Linked DNA regions of Homo sapiens: regions 2 and 3 are each linked to region 1. Evidence: promoter capture Hi-C in 16 types of primary human blood cells and fetal thymus (Javierre and others, 2016). All regions are on one chromosome and are shown on one strand. Each heading gives the region's core, a stretch centred on a gene start or on the middle of the fragment in contact. The rest is flanking DNA. Distances are from core to core; before and after follow the strand shown. Region 1 holds the start of CGREF1 (cell growth regulator with EF-hand domain 1). Region 2 overlaps SLC5A6 (solute carrier family 5 member 6). Region 3 overlaps CAD (carbamoyl-phosphate synthetase 2, aspartate transcarbamylase, and dihydroorotase).

What was found. The method cuts DNA at HindIII sites, captures the fragments that hold promoters and counts their contacts. A CHiCAGO score of 5 or more calls a contact.
Region 2: a fragment that was not itself captured here is called in contact with the fragment with the promoter of CGREF1 in region 1 in 8 of 17 cell types (M2 macrophages, M1 macrophages, megakaryocytes and 5 more); the score reaches 11.1 in M2 macrophages.
Region 3: a contact is called between a fragment that was not itself captured here and the fragment with the promoter of CGREF1 in region 1, in 6 of 17 cell types (naive B cells, M1 macrophages, M2 macrophages and 3 more). The highest score is 7.2, in naive B cells.

Annotation. Positions count from the first base shown.
Region 1 is chr2:27,117,774-27,120,995 of GRCh38, reverse strand. CGREF1 (cell growth regulator with EF-hand domain 1) reads left to right here and starts at 1,868. Exons shown (of 6, transcript NM_006569.6): 1 at 1,868-2,150. RefSeq lists enhancers at 1,935-2,435, 2,436-2,936. The HindIII fragment of the contact is 4,689 bases long and covers 1-3,222 here.
Region 2 is chr2:27,198,742-27,202,440 of GRCh38, reverse strand. SLC5A6 (solute carrier family 5 member 6) reads left to right here. Exons shown (of 17, transcript NM_021095.4): 13 at 367-453; 14 at 594-775; 15 at 988-1,091; 16 at 1,328-1,443; 17 at 1,862-2,854. The coding sequence ends at 2,005. Among named protein-coding and RNA genes, the nearest start is that of ATRAID, 11 kb to the left of the region's middle. The HindIII fragment of the contact is 6,317 bases long and covers 1-3,699 here.
Region 3 is chr2:27,233,876-27,237,536 of GRCh38, reverse strand. CAD (carbamoyl-phosphate synthetase 2, aspartate transcarbamylase, and dihydroorotase) reads right to left here. Exons shown (of 44, transcript NM_004341.5): 22 at 3,311-3,529; 23 at 2,852-3,019; 24 at 2,110-2,292; 25 at 1,897-2,001; 26 at 1,014-1,253; 27 at 707-788; 28 at 1-158. Among named protein-coding and RNA genes, the nearest start is that of CAD, 18 kb to the right of the region's middle. The HindIII fragment of the contact is 1,738 bases long and covers 919-2,656 here.

The DNA of each region.
Region 1 (3,222 bases), core at 619-3,118:
TCCATTCCTCAGAGATGGTGCGTCTGGGTTTCCTCATGTGATGGAAGGGACAGAAAGGCAAGAGAGCAAGAGGGGTGAACTCTCTCAGAAACCTCTTTCATAAGGTCATTAATCCCTTCATGAGGGGAGAGCCCTCATGGTTTCATCATGTCCCAAAAGGCCCTACTCCTTTTTGGTTTTTTTCAGAGGCAGGATGTCGCTCTGTCACCAAGGTTGGAGTGCAGTGGCAGGATCACAGCTCACTGTAACCTCAAATTCCTGGACTCAAGGGATCTGCCTGCCTCAGCCTCCCAAATAGCTGGGACTACAGGCGTGCACCACCATGCCTAATTTTTATTTATTTATTTATTGTAGAGACACGGTCTCACTATGTTGCCCAGACTGGTCGAAAACTCCTGGCCTCAAGAGATCCTCACACTTCGGCCTCCCAAAGTGCTGGGATTACAGGTGTGAGCCACTGTGCCTGGCTTCCTCCTCTTAATATCACCACAATGGGGACTAAGTTTCAGCACATGAATTTGGTGGGATATTCAGGCCATAGCAATGTTCTTCCTATGTGTGTGTCTGTGTCCACATTTCCTCTTTTGATATGAACACCAGTCATATTGATTAGGGGCCCACCCTACTCCAGTATGACCTCATCTTAATGGATTACATCTGCAATGACCCTATTTCCAAATAAGGTCACAGTCTGAGGTATTGGAGGTTAAGACTTCAACATATAACTTTGTGAAGGACACGAGTCAATGCATAACAGTGATGGGAGCTAGGTGAGCAGATGAGCACATGAGCAGATGGAAAGTGAGGAGAGGGCCCTGAGGAACTCTGACGGTGAAGAAAATGGAGACCTTTTTGAAATGACCAGAGGTAGGAGAGGTATTGCCGAAACCAGCAGAATCCGTGATCTAAAAAGGCAGTGACAAGCAGTGTTCATCACTGGGAGGAGGACAGGATGAGAGTGGGCTTGTCGCTGTGATGACAGTGTCGCTGTGATGGAGTGTCACAAACAACTCAGGAAGAGTTCACCCTGACACCCCAATACATATGCCTCTAACACTCTGCACCGCCACACCCCTGGGCAGTCAGTCACACATTGGCCATACCCTGAAGCCCACACTATCATTTATTTTTTATTTATTTATTTATTTATTGAGACGGAGTCTCAGTCTTGCTTTGTCACCCAGGCTGGAGTGCAGTGGCGTGATCTCGGCTCACTGCAAGCTCCACCACCCAGGTTCATGCCATCCTCCTGCCTCAGCCTCCCGAGTAGCTGACACTACAGGCGCCCGTCACCATGCCCGGCTAATGTTTTTGTATTTTCAGTAGAGACGGGGTTTCACTGTGTTAACCAGGATGGTCTCCATCTCCTGACCTCGTGATCCACCCGCCTTGGCCTCCCAAAGTGGTGGGATTACAGGTGTGAGCCACCACGCCCGGCCCCTGAAGCCCACACTATCACACGGATGCACAGTCACACAAAATACCCCCTACCGTGTCACAAATTCCTCATACACAGAGCCACACATGCCAGTCACAACCGCACATGCTAACAGTAAGTTAGGTTCCATTTTGTCACATACATCTGGGTCCCTCAGGCAGAGAAAGTGGCAACCAAAGCATGAGCACAGTTAAACATACTTCTGATGCACACTGGCCTCACTGTCTCTTGGTCTCTCTGTACTCACATGTGTGCATACAGGCACACGCACACATCCGCGCACACATGCACGCTCACACACGTGCATCCTTACACATGCTCACACTCACGCTCACAATGTCACACGCATGTGCACACCCGCACAAGCACACGAGCGCACTCACGAGCACACGCGGACTCGCACACGCGCACATGCGCACTCACGCACGCACACACGCGCACACTCACACGGGCGCGCGCAGCCCCTCCGGCCGCGGGCGCAGCGGGGGCGCTGGTGGAGCTGCGAAGGGCCAGGTCCGGCGGGCGGGGCGGCGGCTGGCACTGGCTCCGGACTCTGCCCGGCCAGGGCGGCGGCTCCAGCCGGGAGGGCGACGTGGAGCGGCCACGTGGAGCGGCCCGGGGGAGGCTGGCGGCGGGAGGCGAGGCGCGGGCGGCGCAGCAGCCAGGAGCGCCCACGGAGCTGGACCCCCAGAGCCGCGCGGCGCCGCAGCAGGTGGGTGACACCCCGCCCCGGCCGGCCGGAGACCCGAGCCCATCGCCGTCAGCCAGCCAGGGCCGCGCGGGGTAGGTGGCCTCCAGCCTCTGGTCCAGATCCCGAGAGCGCAGTCCCTCTGCATCCCCTGCGGCTCAGACGCGGCGGGAGCAGTGGCCCTTGCCCCTGTGTACCCTGAGGGCAGGTGGAGGAAGGGACTGGAGAGCGAGCCTGAGGCTCCTTGGTGTGAATTTGGGGCTTCGCAGTTCCCCAGGCGCTTCCCCCAGCCCCGCATTCCGTGTTCCAGCAGTCCTGGGGGAGGGGCAGCTGGCGGGAGCTTTCCCCCTCATCCGACGGGGAAGAAATGGAGCGCTGGGGAGGGCCCGAGGCTGTCGTCCGCTTGCAGGTGGCCGAGGGACCAGCTCCCGGGTGTGGGCTCCTCTAGCCCTGTAGCCGCTGTCTCCTTTCTTGGGGGATGGGTGCTGGGAGGCACAAGGGCACCAGAGGGATAAATTAAGAATTAAGGGAGAGGATTCTACTCAAAATTTTAGCTTCCCAACAGTTCGACTCTACAGGAGATGGAACTGCCGGCCTGTGAGGTGCTAGGTTCCTGTCCTGGAATGATTCAAGCAGAGGCCATTTGACAGGGTTGCTGAGGAAGAAATTTTTGCTTTGGATGGGAAGTTACCCAGGATAACCCTGCAAGGCCCCTGCCACAGCCCAGAGGCTCTGAAATACCCAAGCAGCACCTGCTTGGTGCCAGGCACCTACCCTAAGTTTTCTCATTGCAGCCTCCCCAAACCTTTAGGAGACAGATACCGTTATCCTCATTTTTAAAATGCAGATCCCGACCAGGAGCAGTGGCTCACGCCTGTAATCCCAGCACTTTGGGAGGCCGAGACGGGCGGAACACGAAGTCAGGAAATCGATACCATCCTGGTTAACACGGTGAAACCCCGTCTCTGCTAAAAATACAAAAAAAATTTAGCCAGGCGTGGTGGCAGGCGCCTGTAGTCCCAGATACTCGGGAGGCTGAGGCAGGAGAATGGAGAATGGCGTGAACCCGGGAGGCGGAGCTTGCTGTGAGCCGAGA
Region 2 (3,699 bases), core at 1,164-3,663, 81 kb before region 1:
CCTCCACCTCCCACATTCAAGTGATTCTCCTGTCTCAGCCTCCTAAGTAGCTGAGGGACTACAGGCATGTGCCACCGTGTCTGGCTAATTTTTGTATTTGTAGTAGAGACGGGGTTTTACCATGTTGGCCAGGCTAGTCTGGAGCTCCTGACCTCAGGTGATCCTCCCGCCTCGGCCTCCCAAACTGCTGGAATTACAGGCATGAGCCACCGCTCGGCCACCTCTGGAGTTCTGATTGTTCCCACAGAAGAGACAGATCTGACAAGTGGGGCTCCAAGGTCATGGCTGGTGGCTATGCTTTATGGTGAGTCTGGGCATCTCTGAGTCTGTGTTCTTTTTCCTTTTCTTCTCACCCTGTCCTCCTAGGCAGCAATCAGCATCTTTGGCATGGTTGGGGGACCGCTGCTGGGACTCTTCTGCCTTGGAATGTTCTTTCCATGTGCTAACCCTCCTGTGAGTGATGCATCTGGATCCACAGTCATGTGTAGCAGGATGGACCTGGGGGTTGGCAGGGCTGTCACCAGGAGAGCTGAGGACTGCCGTGAGGGCTGGCAGGACTGGCCTTGTGACAGGCCTGCACTGTGTCTCGGCAGGGTGCTGTTGTGGGCCTGTTGGCTGGGCTCGTCATGGCCTTCTGGATTGGCATCGGGAGCATCGTGACCAGCATGGGCTCCAGCATGCCACCCTCTCCCTCTAATGGGTCCAGCTTCTCCCTGCCCACCAATCTAACCGTTGCCACTGTGACCACACTGATGCCCTTGACTACCTTCTCCAAGTAAGGCAGGGCTTGCTATCTTCTTGTTTTCTCAAAGCCCTCCTTTGAGGGCTTTCACAGGGGTCTTGCTAAGGGATGGGCCACCAGAGGCCCCAGGGAAATGTTGGGTATTGGGTCCCAAGACCCTGGGACCATGCGGGCAAGTAGAGATTGGTGCCCAAGGAATGCCCTGCCAACGAATTGCTAATTGTTCTCACCTCTGCTCTTCCCAGGCCCACAGGGCTGCAGCGGTTCTATTCCTTGTCTTACTTATGGTACAGTGCTCACAACTCCACCACAGTGATTGTGGTGGGCCTGATTGTCAGTCTACTCACTGGTAAGGGTGTGGGATTGCGGTGCAGATGAGCACCGAGGGGTTAACAGAGGGCCCTAAGGGACTCTAGGGAGAAAGGCTCCTGCCCTCTGAGCTCTTGGGTGTCCGTAGCTGTCAGGCTTTTCTGCTGGGATGTAGGAGGTGGGTGGGGGCTGGGGTCTCTGGGGGCCAAGGGAGGACATGGGGCCCGCTGCTGTGGATGGTTCCACCCAGAGACTCAGAAGCACATTTCCATTCAGGGAGAATGCGAGGCCGGTCCCTGAACCCTGCAACCATTTACCCAGTGTTGCCAAAGCTCCTGTCCCTCCTTCCGTTGTCCTGTCAGAAGCGGCTCCACTGCAGGAGCTACGGCCAGGTAGTACCTGCTGTCCAAGTGACCCCTCCCTGCCCTTCTCCACAGATGCCACTGACTCTTCAGGTTCCCTTCTACCCCTTTTCTCTCCCCCTGCCCCGGGTGCCTCTCTCAGGATCAGCTAAGCCTAGGCTGTCCCACACGGCTGTCTCAGGTTCTACCCACAGGACTGCACTGGCTTGGTGGGCAGAAGGATCTCAGGGCTCAGAGGAGCTCAGCCCCAGCCTGGGCCAGTCAGCTCCCCTCCCCAGCCCACCCTGTGCTCCCTGCTGTGCTATGCCCTCCCTCTTTTCCCCCTGCTCTCCCTCCCGAACCCAGCCTTGCTGGGCTCCCTTCTGGCGGGGACCTTTTTTGTGTGAATCCTGTCAAGCACCCGTCATCCGTCTTCACCAGTTCCACCCCTTTGGCTCTGTGTTTGCAGGACCACCTCGACACTGGCCTGTTTCCTGAGAAGCCGAGGAATGGTGTGCTGGGGGACAGCAGAGACAAGGAGGCCATGGCCCTGGATGGCACAGCCTATCAGGGGAGCAGCTCCACCTGCATCCTCCAGGAGACCTCCCTGTGATGTTGACTCAGGACCCCGCCTCTGTCCTCACTGTGCCAGGCCATAGCCAGAGGCCACCCTGTAGTACAGGGATGAGTCTTGGTGTGTTCTGCAGGGACAGGCCTGGATGATCTAGCTCATACCAAAGGACCTTGTTCTGAGAGGTTCTTGCCTGCAGGAGAAGCTGTCACATCTCAAGCATGTGAGGCACCGTTTTTCTCGTCGCTTGCCAATCTGTTTTTTAAAGGATCAGGCTCGTAGGGAGCAGGATCATGCCAGAAATAGGGATGGAAGTGCATCCTCTGGGAAAAAGATAATGGCTTCTGATTCAACATAGCCATAGTCCTTTGAAGTAAGTGGCTAGAAACAGCACTCTGGTTATAATTGCCCCAGGGCCTGATTCAGGACTGACTCTCCACCATAAAACTGGAAGCTGCTTCCCCTGTAGTCCCCATTTCAGTACCAGTTCTGCCAGCCACAGTGAGCCCCTATTATTACTTTCAGATTGTCTGTGACACTCAAGCCCCTCTCATTTTTATCTGTCTACCTCCATTCTGAAGAGGGAGGTTTTGGTGTCCCTGGTCCTCTGGGAATAGAAGATCCATTTGTCTTTGTGTAGAGCAAGCACGTTTTCCACCTCACTGTCTCCATCCTCCACCTCTGAGATGGACACTTAAGAGACGGGGCAAATGTGGATCCAAGAAACCAGGGCCATGACCGGGTCCACTGTGGAGCAGCCATCTATCTACCTGACTCCTGAGCCAGGCTGCCGTGGTGTCATTTCTGTCATCCGTGCTCTGTTTCCTTTTGGAGTTTCTTCTCCACATTATCTTTGTTCCTGGGGAATAAAAACTACCATTGGACCTAGAATTTGGGCTCCTGTACTGTCTTCACCTGCTCTTGTCCACCCTACTGCATCCTCTGGTGAGGATAAGGAGTCCTATCCTATGTACAGGTCACCTTCCTGTGCTGAGGAGGGGGGCTGTGGCTTCAAGTCCCTGCTGTCCCTGTGTCTGCAGGGGACAGTGTTGTGCTCACCATGGTAGAAGATGCACACCCTCTCCTAGGGCTTCTCATCCCCTGGGGCTTACTTAGTCTGTCCCTTCTCCGGCCCCACTTTCCCTTTGCCAGAACCTTTTGCTCTCAGATTTTTACTTTTGGAACTGGAGGAAGAATGTTCCCATCTGATTTTAGAAACGGAACATTCTAGCTGGACTTTTATGGTCTTGTGAAGAACACTGTGCTCACACCCTCCCACACCTGGCCTCTGCCCCTGCCTGGCCCTGTTCAGCTGCCCACATCAGCTCTGCACCAGCTCTCCGGGGTCTCTTAACAGAGACCGGGTCCCAGGCATATCTGAATTCAGCCTCAACTGAGGCCTTCTCCCAGGGCTTCTAGAGCACATTCCAGCTGTTCTCTCATACTCCATGTAGCTTAGGCCTGGGATGTTCTGTGTCCCTTTTTCTACCTCTACCCCAGCTCACTCGGTCACACCCCAGCCCCTTTCACCTCTGCCCTGGCCAGCCCTGTGGAGGAACAGGGCCTGGTTGTGCCAGAGCCAAGACACTAGCTACTCCCAACCTGCCTAGGCCTCATTTATATTCATGACGACAATATTGTCTCCTAATGGGTCTTAAACCTGTTGCCCTGGATTTTTTTTTCCATTCCACAAGGCTCTGGTCTTGAACATAAACATTCCTTCCAGTATGGACTTC
Region 3 (3,661 bases), core at 538-3,037, 120 kb before region 1:
CAGGGCCAGAGCAGGGGCGTCAATGATGGGGGGCCGGGTATTAGGCATGGCACACACCATGGTGATACCCCCAGCCAGGGCAGCGGCTGTGCCTGAAGCAAAGTCCTCCTTATGTGTCCCACCTGGTTCCCGCAGGTGCACATGGACATCAATCAATCCTGGGAGAAAATGGAAGCAGCAAGATTACAGGAAGATTCAGAAATAGGAAGGGTGAGCTGGACATGGTGGCTCACGCCTGTAATCCTAGCACTTTGGGAGGCCGAGGTGGGCAGATCACCTGAGATCAGGAGTTCGAGACCAACCTGACCAACATGGTGAAACCCCGTCTCTACTAAAAACACAAAAATTAGCCTGGTGTGGTAGCACACACCTGTAATCCCAGCTACTTGGGAGGCTGAGGCAGGAAAATCGCTTGAACCTGGGAGGCGGAGGTTGCAGTGAGCCGATATCACACACCACTGCACTCCAACCTGGGCGATGGAGTAAGACTCTGTCTCAAAAAAAAAAAAAAAAAAAAAATTCCTCAGACAAGGCCACTGTGGACACTGTGGATTAAGGAATGAAAGAGTGAGAAACATTCTGGGGTCTTCACAGTCTGTGCAGTCCAGGACAAAGAGTGGGCCCCCCAGCCATCCTTCACCACACTGCAGGTCTCTATGCCAGGGGCTGCCAGTGTTCAGAAGCCAAGTTCTCCCCAAAGACTTACCCGGCAGTCGCACAAGCTTTTGGGAGGTCATACAGTCAACATGCACCTTCAAAGGAGGGGCTGGCCCGATCTGGCCTAGGGCCTGCAAGTGGAAAGCAGTCAGCTTTAAGGGAAGGGTGATCCTGGGAGTTGTAGGGAGAGATGTGGTTTTCCCATAAACCAGGCTCTGCACACTCTATACCCACCATCTCTCCCTCTGTAGCCACAAAGCTTTATTACTAGCATGGCTGTTCCATACTCACTCCTCCCTCTTTCTTCTTCCCATCAACACTGGCAGTCTCCCTCCCAGCACATGGGTCTCAGTTACCTCCACAAAGAGTTTGGTGCACTTGATATCGATGATTAGGGGCACGGAGAAGTCAGCGGCCAAGCGTCGGGTGCGGTAGCCCTTGGTGACAAAGGAAGAGAGACGCCGGCCCCCAGCTCCACGCATTGACAGGTTAATCACCAGCTCAAAGTTTTTCTCAGCTAGCTGCTCCAGGATGCTCCGCTGTGGTGGGCACTCACCATCCACAGCCTCCTCAAAGTGCCAGTCCACAGCTGTTACCTGCCAACCCGGAGTCAAGGTCAGGGCCAAGCTGTCTGGCAGCGGTCAGGAAGGCTAGCCTTAAGGGAGAGGAGCTGGCCCAGGAGCCCATGATGAGGAGACTGAGGACCCATAGGGTGGGCACTGAGGGCTGCCTCTATTTGATACTGGCAAAGTGTATTTCTTGGCAGGAAAGATATCTACACTAAGTAAGATGGGTTACCAAGGACTAGGTGCAGTATGAGCTCACACACATGTACACAGAGAAAATCCTGGAAGGAAAAATATCAGAACAGTGGTACAGAGATTTTAAGAGACTTTTCTCTTTGCTTCCTGTGTATTCTGCTTTCTGCATGGAATATAGCTTACTAGTATAATGGTAATAATAAAAGCAGGGGAATAGGAGATAATTCTTTGTTTTTTTTTTTTTTGAGACAGCATCTCACTGTTTCCCAAGCTGGAGTGCAGTGGTGCACTCACTGCACACTCGCAGCTCACTGCAGCCTCTACCTCCTGGGCTCAAGAGATTCTCCTGCCTTAGCCTCCTGAGTATCTGGGACTACAGGTATATGCCACCGTGCCCAGCCCAGATAATTCTTTGGTGCAGTATTTTCACCCCCTTGGGGAAGGGCAGCAGTGGGGTAGGTTGCCAGAGTTCCTGCACCTTGACGCCATGCTCAGTGTAGAAGTCAGCTGTGCCGAGACTGGCATAGAGGCTGTAGCCCAGGCTCTCCAGTAGCCGCACAGTTGGGAGCAGCTCGCTTTTGTTCTGAAACCAAACAGAAGGATGAAATTGTTTTCTTCCTGTCTTCCATTTCAAGGTCAGCCCTGGCCCAGGGAGCCACGGCCCTCGGGAAGCCCTCCTGGATTCTGATACCTTATAGCTGCCAATGGTCAGCAGGATATTCTTCTTGGGGATCTTAAAGCCAGTGCTTAGCATGGCCTTGAGGTATGCCTCACAGCGGCTCTCCCCAAAGCCGGCCACCTCCCCAGTACTGGTCATTTCCACACCCAACACCACGTCAGCACCCGCCAAGCGGGAGAAGGAGAACTGAGGCACCTAAAGGGGCGGGAGGGAAGAGAGAGGGCCAAGGTGTGAGAGGACCTCCTCCCTCACCAGCAGAGACGGACACAGTACCCTGTGCTTGATCCCATCTGAATGGCAGGGTCAGCCTGCCCTCTCTGTGTGCCCTCCTGCTTTCCAAACGTACTTGGGGTCATCCCTCAGCTTCTGCTTAGGATGTGCCCTTGCAAATAAAAAACCTTAACCATCCTTCAAAACTCAATTCAAATAGCACCCCTTCGCTCAAGCCTTCCCAGATCACCCCTTTTGGAAGCAGCACCTCCTGTCTCTTGAACTCCTGCAGCATTCTGTTTACAGGTCGAATATGTAGTTTTACCACGGACTGTTCTATACCAAAGCTTTTTTGGGGATCCAACTTCTCTTCCCTCCCATTACCATAAAGTAAGCTCTTAAGGGACAATGACCACCTCATTACCCCCACGATCCGGCAATGCCTTGCAGTCAGTGCCTGGTTTACATACTGACAACTCTGTGTGGTGAGTGAACTCTCTCCCGCTATTTTTCTGCTAACCCCAAGGGTTTCGATATTCCTTACCTTTACTCCCACGACTCCAGAACCAGTCATTAGCCCCACAGGTTCCACTTCTTCCCCCATGATGACCCGCGTGGCCAAGGCTACTAGGTCCACACCCAGTGTCTTGGAAACGAAGGGGAAGGAGCGAGAGACACGTACGTTGCATTCAATAACTTTCAGCTGGTCATCCTGGGGCAGAGAAGACTGGTCAGGCCTTCTGCAGGTTGGCCTTGCTGACACTATCTATAGGCCTAGACTCTTCCTCTCCGTCCTCAGCTCTGGGGGATCAGACTGAGCAGGGTTCAGGGTCACTGACTGTCATAAGCCCCAACACCATGAGCTCTAGCTACAGCCCTTTCCCTCCAGCTTCCCTGCCTACTTGGATGAAGGCAGGAGACAGTGCAGGGCTTCATGGCACTGTGGCCAGCACAGAACATGCAAGAGCTGTGGCCCTTTAGTTCTTTCCTTTAGCCTTATTACCTTGGCAATGAGCTGCAGATTGAAGGGTCCTGTGACCTGTAGCTCCTGGCCCACAGCATGCACAATGGCTTTGATCCGCTCCAGGGTTTTGGCAGTGATATCTTGTGGGGGGGTCACCAGCGTCGCATCACCTGAATGCACACCTGCATTCTCCACATGCTCAGAGATGGCGATGGCTGCCACCACACCATCAGAGGCCACGGCATCCACGTCAATCTCCTAGCGGGGGGACACAGACAGTGGGACATAGGGCCACTTTCTTCTCTCACTTACTCTAGGATTGTCTCTTCCTTTAACGAGCCCCACATAGCCCACTGTTCCCAGCCCTGGTGCCTATGATTCTGCTGGACC